3 separate regions of the Homo sapiens genome follow, and all the other regions are linked to region 2. The links are contacts of gene promoters, found by promoter capture Hi-C in human tissues and cell types (Jung and others, 2019). All regions are on one chromosome and are shown on one strand. The core of a region is centred on a gene start or on the middle of the fragment in contact, and the rest is flanking DNA. Distances in the headings are between cores, read along the strand shown. Region 1 has its middle 7.1 kb from the start of MIR3917. Region 2 holds the start of FAM110D (family with sequence similarity 110 member D). Region 3 overlaps PAFAH2 (platelet activating factor acetylhydrolase 2).

Region 1 (3,220 bases), core at 413-2,912, 250 kb before region 2:
CTGAGTAACTGGGATTACAGGCACATGTCACCACGCCTGGCTAATTTTTTGTATTTTTAGTAGAGATGGGTTTTCACCATGTTGGCCAGGCTGGCTTTGAACTACTGACCTCAAGTGATCCACCCGCCTTGACTTCCCAAAGTGCTGGGATTACAGATGTGAGCCACCACACCTGGCCAGAGACGCTGTCTCTTAAACAAACAAACAAAAACCACGTCAGGGGTCTTTTCCCTGTTCATACATCAAGGATTTCTTTGATCTGGTGTCCATGGTATGAATATTCCAAGATGCAGTTAACCAGTGGGATATCTGTGGCTCTTTAGGTTATTCCCAGTTATTCAGAATAGCTCACCATGCTGTAATGAATGACCTAGTTCATATGGCATTTCCTATGGGTGTGAGTATATCTGCAAGACATATTCCTAGAAATGGTATTTCAGGGCTAAAAGGCAAGCACATTTGTAATTTGGATGGTGCCAAATTGCCTTCCACGTTGTACCAATTCAACACTCACCATGTGGCACTTTAATTCATTATCTCAACTCATTCAAAAATGATTTGCAAGGCTTTGTCCCTAGAAATTTCAGGCATTAGAGAAAAGGAGGGGGAGGAGCCAAAATCCCAAGAAAGACATGGCTGTCAATTCTGTCTATATTAATAACTCCTATAAATATTTGACTAGCAACAGGCTGATCTCAGAACAGCTCTAGTGCCTGCACTGTGGCACCCGTCTCAGTCCTGTGACTCACATGGCTGCAATGAGATTGGAAGTGCACTTCCATTGGAAGAGACTGGACTGCACTGAGATTGGAAGTGCGCTGTGAGACTGGAAGCTTTCTGAAGGCAGGGTCTTTCTCATTGCTGTATCTCACTCCCCTCCCAATGTGCCTGGCACAGATCTTATTTATTTAATTAATTCTAAGATGTATTTTTTCCCCCACATTTTTTATCTTTGAAATCAGTTGGTCCTCATAGTCAATAAATAGCATGTTATAATTATTGGCAGCATTTTATCTTTTTTGTTGTTCTTGTTGTTTTGAGACAGGTTCTCACTTTGTCACCCTGGTTGGAGTGCAGTGGTGTGAACATGGCTCACTGCAGCTTCAACCTCTCAGGCTCAAGTGATCCTCCTGCCTCAGCCTTCTGAGTAGCTGGGACAACAGGTATGTGTCACCATGCCTGGCTAATTTTAAATTATTTTTTAGAGATGGGGTCTCACCACTTTGCCCAGGCTGGTCTTGAACTCCTGGTCTTAAGTGATCCTCCTGCCTTGGCCTCCCAAGGTGGTGGGGTTACAGGCATGAGCCAGTCCAGGCACACCTGGCCTAGACTGGAATCTTTTAAATGTTAATAGCTCACATAGAATGCTTACCACACAGCAGCCACTGGTCTAAACACTCCACATGTACTAACTCACTTAATTCTCATGACAGTCTTATGAGGTATTATTAGCTTAATTGCAAAGATGAGGCAATGAAGGTGACCAACTCTCCTGGTTTACCAGGGACTGAAGGGTTTTTCCAGGACTTGAGACTTTTAGTGCTAAAACAGGGAAAGTTCCAGGCAAGCCCAGATGAGTTGGTCATTCTAAATAAAGGAACTGATTCAGAATGCCTTTTTTAGAGGGAAAAATAATAATAAAATAAAGGAAACTGAGGCATGGAAAGATAGTAGCTTTTTAAAGTTTGTTTTTGTTTTTGTTTTTGTTTTTGTTTTAGACAGAGTTTCGCTCTTGTTGGTCAGGCTGGAGTGCAATGGCGCAATCTCGGCTCACCGCAACCTCCACCTTCCGGGTTCAAGCGATTCTCCTGCCTCAGCCTCCCGAGTAGCTGGGATTACAGGCATGCACCACCATGCCCGGCTAATTTTGTATTTTTAATAGAGACGTTTCTCCATGTTGGTTTCTCTATGTTGGTCAGGCTGGTCTCGAACTCCTGACCTTAGGTGATCCACCTGCCTCGGCCTCCCAAAGTGCTGGGATTACAGGCATAAGCCACCGTACCCGGCCCCTTTTTTAGATATGTCAGATGGGGTCCTTGTCCTAGGCCCTACTCTTTAGAGGGCTGCACCCTAATCCTCCTCCAGCTGTGTCCCTCCTCACAGTTCCCTGGGTCCAAAGAGATATGCCCGCCTGGAGCCTGTGCACCCCTTCTAGACCACCCTCTCAATACCCAGGACTCCAGAATTCCCTGCCAAAATGGCCCAAGTCCATTTTCAGCATCTGTGCCAACCCTTTCCCTGGTTCCATCCTCCCAAGGGCAAACTTCCTGCCAGTGAGTGCACCCCTGTGCTTAGAGCTGGCTGTTTGCAAGGGGTGTGAACAGAGGCTGAGCATGTGGGCTGGGGAATGCACACAGGAATGAGAAGAGAAGGGAGCTGGCTCTGCTACATTCTCACATGGAACTCCAGGGAATCCAAGAATTCTCAACTCAAAACCTGGCTTTCTAGGTTGTTATGGAGGTATATTTGTCAAGGTAGGAGGATAGAACATATATTTTTAAAAAATAGTTTGTTAGCTTGATTTATAACTCTTAAATACTTAGCCATATGGTATGTGGGCTTCCCTTCTATACTCCTGCCCTGGGTCTGGCAAACATTAGCAGCAGGTTTGCAGCAAGCTTAGATCACTTGTTCAACTAGGCCACACAGAAGCGGCAGAGCTTTTGTAGTCTGGCCCTGACTCTATGCTTTCAGCTATCACTCTAAACTGTTTTATCAGGCTACCCCTGTTATTTTACAAATAGGGGAGAAAAGACCAGAGAACTCTAGACATTTGCCCAATGTCACATGGCTAGTTCGTGTCATGTCAGGGGGAATTTGAATCCTGTCCTTTATATGATGCAGCAGGTACTGCTCAGTTACTATTTGTATGAGTGTGGGCACGTGACTTCCCCTTTTGGGGCCTGTGTTCCATCATCTGTGAAATGGGAAGAACACCCCTACCTCATAGAGCTGCCAGGACTAAATAAAATAATATATGTAAAGTCCCTAGCATTGTGTCTATACACAATAAACCCTCAGTAAGTGACAGCTAAGGTATTAGCTATCAAGGACAGCTCTGATCATGCCATTTTCTGCTTGAAAACATTCGACAAATTCAACTTTGGGACACATGATATGAGAAAAGCAAAAATTTCTGAAACCTAAAAAAAAAAAAAAAAAGACTCCCTTTCTTGGCTTAGAGGCCAAGGATTCCTGGCACAGCAGCTATAACCCTCCG
Region 2 (3,100 bases), core at 256-2,755:
AAAATTAGCCAGGCACTTGCCTGTTATCCCAGCTACTCGGGAGGCTGAGGCAGGATAATCGCTTGAACCCAGGAGGCGGAGGTTGCAGTGAGCCAAGATCACGTCACGGCACTCCAGCCTGGGTGACAGAGTTTGGTGAGCTTGGATAAGTCATTTCTCCTCTCTGAGCCTCAGTCTCTTCAGCCGTAAGTGTGAAAAATAATAAAACCTCCCCCAAAGATTGTCATGGGGATTATGACAAAGCAGCTAATGGCATTTTGAAAAGTGCTGTAGCAACAAAATATGGAACTATCACCAACAAAATCCCCCCTTTAGGTAATAAAAACCTTTTACCGGGAGATGGGCCTTGGGTTTTCAGACCCACTACTGACTTGACAGGCAGAGGATGCAGTTCCAAATGTGGATTTGGAGCTGGGCTTTGGGCATCTCTCTCCCCCCTCAGCTCCTGTTTCCTTACTCATTAAGTGGGGGGTCATTCCTGCTGGACGCCTGTCTAGGGTCCTTGTTTGGGGGCGGTCAAAGGAGATCAGAGAGCACAGACGGGAATGTGCTTTGCAAACATGAAAGAGGGCTAGAAAGGAGGAGGAGGGACTTGGGGAAGGTGGCCAGCCAAGGGGGGAAAGGAACCTTTGGCCTGAGCACTGGTCTTAGTCTGGGCTGGAGAGTTTAGTTTGCCTGCTGGGGAGAGGGGAGGTGTCTCCTATGAGGTAGGGTTTCACCTTGAGACATAAGGTGTCAGAGAAGAAACTCTGATGGAAGAAGCTCTAAGAGGCTCCAAGTGTGGGCAGAGAAGGAAGCGGGCCAAAGGACCTGGGCTTGGCCCTGGAATCAGCCCCTCATCACTGTCTTCCCAGGCAATCCCATCTGCCATGAAAGGACCTTGGCAGAGGCAGCTCCAGTGGGCTCCAGGGTCACCTTCATGACAAGACTTGCCGCCACAGGCTCACCTGCACATCTATAGCACCAATGCCCCCACCCTTAGGCTGCAGATTCCTGGTCTCGCCCCCAGGGAAAGCAGGCTTGACACCACCCAGCACCCAGACCAAGACAGGTCTCAGCCTGCTACAGAGGGAAAAAAGCAAGTTGACTAGAACCCTGTTCTGCCTTCCCATTCAGACTGTCAGAGCATCTGCCACAGCCCAGGGAGGGGGCTGATCCCACATACGGAGCCCCCACCCCAGGCCTTTGGAGGAAGCCTGGGGATCAGGAGGCCTTGTTTGGAGTCCTGGCTCTGCCCAAGCTCACAGTGCTTCCACAGCCAATCACCTAACCGGGCTGGGACTGTTTGACCATCTGTAAAATAAAAGGAGCTGGACTTGGTTCACAGGTCTCCACAGCGCAGGACTGTGATCAGGAAAGAGTTAATGGAGGCCAGGATCTGCCTCAGGAAGGCGAGGGTTAATTTGGGGGGCGGGGGGTGGAGGCTTTCTCTGCTTTTCCTGTGGAGAGTGAGGTTTGGCTGCCACCAAAGTTACTTCTAGTCCTTGCTGTCCACTCCTGCCCTCAGTCTGGACCTGCCCAAGGACCCCTGCAATTAGGCCTCCCATGCAGAGGTGAGTGTACCCTGAGCCCAGGGCTGGGGTAAGAAGGAACCCAGGGGCCTGAGGGCAGGGAGACTGGTGCCAAACTAGTGAGCCTAAAAGATGGCCCATGCCCAGAGCAGAAGCCTTGGGCAGAGTTGAGACCACAAGTTTCAGGACTGGGAGAAGGCAGGCAAAGGAATGGAGGGCCCGAGGCTGCCTGCCAGGCTTCTAGGGCGGGATGTCTGAGGTCCGGCCTCCAGGCTAGCCCAGAAGGCAGGGAAGAGGCTGTGGATGACAGACTATTTTGGTCCTTGTGATTAGGAACTTTTTATAGTCTCCCTGCTCAGGGCTGGGGAGAAGAGGAGAGGACAGAGGGCACCCATGGGGTCAGACAAGCAGTGCCTTCCTGGGACCTTGGAATCTGACCCACTGCCAAGGAGACTCCCTGGGAGACAGGGAGGGGGACACTGCCAGACTCTCCTTGGTTCCCAGGCCTCAACTACCTATGAGCAGACTGACTACACACTAGATGCTGGGTGCAGGGGTGGGCTGGACCTGGCAGGGTCTCTGCCCCAAGGCCTCTCACAGACTCCTTCCCCACTTCCCTGGCTAATTCTGTTCCTTTGTTGTCCCCAGATCCAAGGTCCCTCAGCCTCCAGGACTCAGGGGGAGTAGGGGAAGATAGGGGTGGGGTCGGGTGTGCAGGGCCATGTGGGTGGCCCATTCTGTTACTGCCAAGAGAACTGTCAGCTCTTGATTTACAACCCCTCCTCGCTCCTTGCCCCAGCAGAAGGGAGGTGGAAAAGGGTCATGAGGTCTTAGGATAAAAAAGGGACAAGGACCCTGGGGGCAAATTTCTGGGAGTGGGAGCGCAGGTTATTAGGAAGAATTAGTGGAAGGAACTTTTTAGTGAGGCAAGGGGCCCATTTCTAACGGAAATTGCTTGGTTTTATAGCAGCGGGAATACACGCAAAATATCAGTGAGTTCTTTTTTTTTTTCTTTTTTTTTTTTTGAGACGGAGTCTCGCTCTGTTGCCCAGGCTGGAGTGCAGTGGTGCGCGATCTCGGCTCACTGCAACCTCCGCCTCCCAGCTTCAAGCGATTCTCCTGCCTCAGCTTCCCAAGTAGCTGGGATTACAGGTGTGCGCCACCCCGCCTGGCTAATTTTTGTATTTTCAGTAGAGATGGGGTTTTGCCATGTTGGCCAGGCTGGTCTGGAACTCCTCACCTAAGGTAATTCACCCACCTCGGCCTCCCAAAGTGCTGGGATTACAGGCATGAGCCATCGCGCCTGGCCTCAGTGGGAAGTTCTGATAGGCAAGTGAGAGATCCAATCTGAACTGCAAGGCAAGAAACCTGGGTGACAAAGCAAGACTCCGTCTAAAGAAAAAAAAAAAAGAAACCTGGGTTCCAGTCCTGGCTCCTAACTCTCAATAGGACCTGAGCAAGCCCCCCTCCTCTCCAAGCCAGTTTCCTCTTCATGAAATGGAAATGCAAAGGTTAAACAAGGTGATGTTTACAGTTTGGCATTCTGCGATCCCCTTGGCAGGGGCAGAGTAGCTGGCAGTAGCTGATAG
Region 3 (3,466 bases), core at 28-2,527, 190 kb before region 2:
GTGAAACCCTGTCTCTACTAAAAATACAAAAAGTAGCTGGGTGTGGTGGCACATGCCTGTAGTCCCAGCTACTTGGGAGGCTGTGGCAGGAGAACTGCCGGAGAATCGCTTGAACCCAGGAGGTTGAGGTTGCAGTGAGCTGAGATCACACCACTGCACTCCAGCCTGAGAGACAGAGTGAGACTCCGTCTCAAACAAAACAAAACAAAACAAAAAACAGAGCACAGAAGAGACTGTCCAGGATGGCACCGGTCAGACCACATCTAATACATTATAGTCAAGTCAGGGCACCACAGTTTATCTATTTATTTTATTTTTTGGAGACGGTATCACTCTGTTGCCCAGGCTGGAGTGCAATGGCATGATCTTGGCTCACTGCAGTCTTGACCTCCCAGGCTCAAGTGATCCTTCCACCCCAGCCTCCCGAGTAGCTGGGACTATAGGCACATGCCACCATACCTGGCTAATTTTATTTATTTTTTTGCTGAGATGGGGTCTCACTATGTTGCACAGGCTGGTCTCAAACCCGTGGCCTCAAGCAATCCTCCCATCTCAGCCTCCCAAAGTAGCTGGGATTACAGATGTTGAGCTACCACACCCGGCCAGGGCACTACACTTTAGAAGGGGCACCAAAAAACAGCGACTCCAAAGGAAGGGGATAACAAATAGCAACATGGGGAATTGAACCGGGACAGGTGGAGGTACCACGAACATTTAGTTTAATAAACAGAACACTCAGAGAAGACTAGCATAGGTGACTTCAAATATCTAGGGAACTGCCAGGTGCCGTCTGAGGCTTCTATGGGTAGCTCTTGAGGGGTTAACCTGGGCAAGTAGAGGAGGGTTACAAACTAGGAGATCTTGCTCTTAGGTTAGAGTTAAGTCAAACCTTTGAAATTCAGACAAGCCTGGCTCCTTTCTCATGGAAACTGCCCTGCACACAGCACCTGCTGAGGGATCAGAAAGGGACCTCTGATGCAGAGAGCTCAGAGCCTAGCTGGGACGGGGCTACAGTGTGTTCTGGTGGGCAAAGAGGAGCTGATACAATCAAATTGCCTCTCTTGGAAATCTGTTCAAAGAAATCCAAAAAAATATGGCAGTGAGCAGTGGGAGCTGAAGATGAAAGGATGCCGCAAGCTAAAGGGAACACACTCTGAGTGGTTCAAGCCGAGTGAAGTTATGAGGAAGCAGAAATGGAATAAACAGCTGCTATCAGTGAGAGAAAAACCACAGAGCAGAAAAAAAAATGCATAACGGAACAAAGAAAAAGAGATGTCGTGAGAGGAAGACACAGAGAGACTGAACCCATGAGACAGACGGAAAGAAAAGTCAGTCCTGCCAGCCACCCTGATTTCTATAACTGCACTCCCACCCAGTCCAGGTGCACTCTCATAAACAAACTCCCCTTTTTTTCTCAAGCTAAGTTTGTGAACCTCTAGTCTTTGTAACCAATAAAGCTTAATAAGAGGATGCCTCCTCTGGGTGGAAGCTGGACCATGGACCTCTGCAGGCCTCGCCCTTTAGCTGCTCTATGACTGATGACATTATTCATAGTCCTTCCATGCTTTGTTTCTTTAAAACACTTCCATAAATTTAGCCCGTTATCCTCATAAACTCCCCTACAATGCAGATAAGGTGGGCAATAATGAGTCTGGGTAAGGAGAGAGGTGGTGGAGTAGAGAGAGGTGAATACTCCATTTACAGGGAGGAAACCAAGGTTCAGAGAGGTTAAATGACTAGGCCAGGTCATTCTGCAAGTAAGATAGTCAGGATCTCCAAACTTTCAGTTAAGTATTTTTTCTTATTTATTTGTTTAATTATTTATTTAGAAACAAGGTCTTGCTCTGTTGCTCAGACTGGAGTTCAGTGGTGCAATCATGGCTCACTGCAGCCTAGACCTCCTAGGCTTAACTGATCCTCCCACCGTAGCCTCTCGAGTAGCTGGGACTATAGGTGTGTGCCACCACACCCAGCTAATTTTTTTTTTTTTTTGGTAAAGATAGAGTCTCACTATGTTGCTCAGACTGGTCTCGAACTCCTGGCCCCAAGCCATCCTCCCACCTCAACCCACCAAAGTGCTAGGATTACAGGCGTGAGCCACTGCACCTGGACTTGTTTTTTCTGTAATTCTATGTAAGTCTCTCCTTCACTCAGGTTTTCCATTTGCCATAAATCTCCTTCCCAGATCCCAGACATGTCAGAGTTCTCACTCTGCTGCAAGGAAATCTAAGGGACCCCACAGCTGCCCCAAGAGCCCCAGTTTTCTCCTTACCGAGGTGCTTCTGCAGGAAGGCCAACATGGCCCGTACCATAACCTCCTGCCCTTCATAGGGGTCCAGGCTCCCACGGGTTTCAGTGGAGAAGAATTTACCAATCAAGTTGCCAGTCACAAAAGCAAAGTCAGTTTGACTCCGATGAACAGAACCACTAGGGGAAAAGAAAAACAACTGGCAGGGGTCTGGCGGCTAGGGCATACAGATGTGTGTTAGGCACCTACTATGTGCAAGGTGCTTTTCATGTATTATCACACTTTATTTTCACAGCAACCTTGTAAGGGAAGTATTTTCCCCCTTGACAGAATCCAAGGAGAGAAACTATCTGCTTAGGGTCAGGTCATACAAGTAGTTGGGGATGGAGTTAGGATTTGAAGCCAGATGTGCTTGGCTTCAAAGCTGGCTTGACCCGTAGACTACAATGCCTGGCAGTGCAGGGAAAAGGTTGAGCTAGCAGGAGCAGGGACAGGAGCAAGGAGGTGGGATCTGTGGCACGTGGCATTTCTATGTTACTACAATCTATTAGCTGTGGCTTTTGCCTGGTGAATTTCAAACATTCACAAAACAAATGAAGTTATTCTTCAGAACTGTACCACAGAGTGAAGAGGGAAAAGGAATTACTTGCCTTTATTTAAACAATCAGAAAAGTAAGAGTGAGTGCTTTGTAAAAGGGGGTTTCTGGGTTGGAACTTAAGTCCTTTGGCAGAAAATAAATTTAATTTGCAGGTGAAATCCTTGCTAGGTTAATTTTGGGCTAAATTATTCATAACTGAATTTACTAGTCAATTCAGTGAGAGAAAGAGAATCTAAATGCTAAAGTATTTGTCTGATATCACAGAAAAACTGACTTTAAAAAATGCATTAGTTAAGGCACACAAAAAGGTGTATAGAATAATATATGGGATACTTGAGTATCCAGCACTCAGTTGAATAAACGATACATTGCCAGGCGTTAAGTCCCCTGAGTGTACCCCTTCCCAACTGGCCTCACCTCCTTTCCCTCCTGAATCTGACCTGGGGAAGCATTCAGGCAGTGTCTACTGCCATGAAACCTAACTGAACGAGGAGGGGTGGCCCTAGGAAAGAGGGCCAGGACCAAGATGAGCAAGGGAAGAAGCCACTGGCCATACTGCCGGCCCCAGTGCTCGAGGGCTCTGGATTTGGCACTTCAACTACCCAGTGACTCCAAAGGT

The links. Contacts are between HindIII fragments. The study calls those that stand out against the background at their distance.
Region 1: a contact is called between a fragment that was not itself captured here and the fragment with the promoter of FAM110D in region 2, in 1 of the 25 tissues and cell types used here (neural progenitor cells).
Region 3: a fragment that was not itself captured here is called in contact with the fragment with the promoter of FAM110D in region 2 in 1 of the 25 tissues and cell types used here (bladder).

What each region holds. Positions count from the first base shown.
Region 1 is chr1:25,911,929-25,915,148 of GRCh38, forward strand. No RefSeq gene overlaps it. Among named protein-coding and RNA genes, the nearest start is that of MIR3917, 7.1 kb to the left of the region's middle. The HindIII fragment of the contact is 5,467 bases long and covers 1-3,220 here.
Region 2 is chr1:26,157,574-26,160,673 of GRCh38, forward strand. FAM110D (family with sequence similarity 110 member D) reads left to right here and starts at 1,506. Exons shown (of 2, transcript NM_024869.3): 1 at 1,506-1,553. The HindIII fragment of the contact is 16,538 bases long and covers 1-3,100 here.
Region 3 is chr1:25,970,286-25,973,751 of GRCh38, forward strand. It overlaps PAFAH2 (platelet activating factor acetylhydrolase 2), which reads right to left. Exons shown (of 11, transcript NM_000437.4): 10 at 2,273-2,427. Among named protein-coding and RNA genes, the nearest start is that of PAFAH2, 26 kb to the right of the region's middle. The HindIII fragment of the contact is 4,625 bases long and covers 1-3,466 here.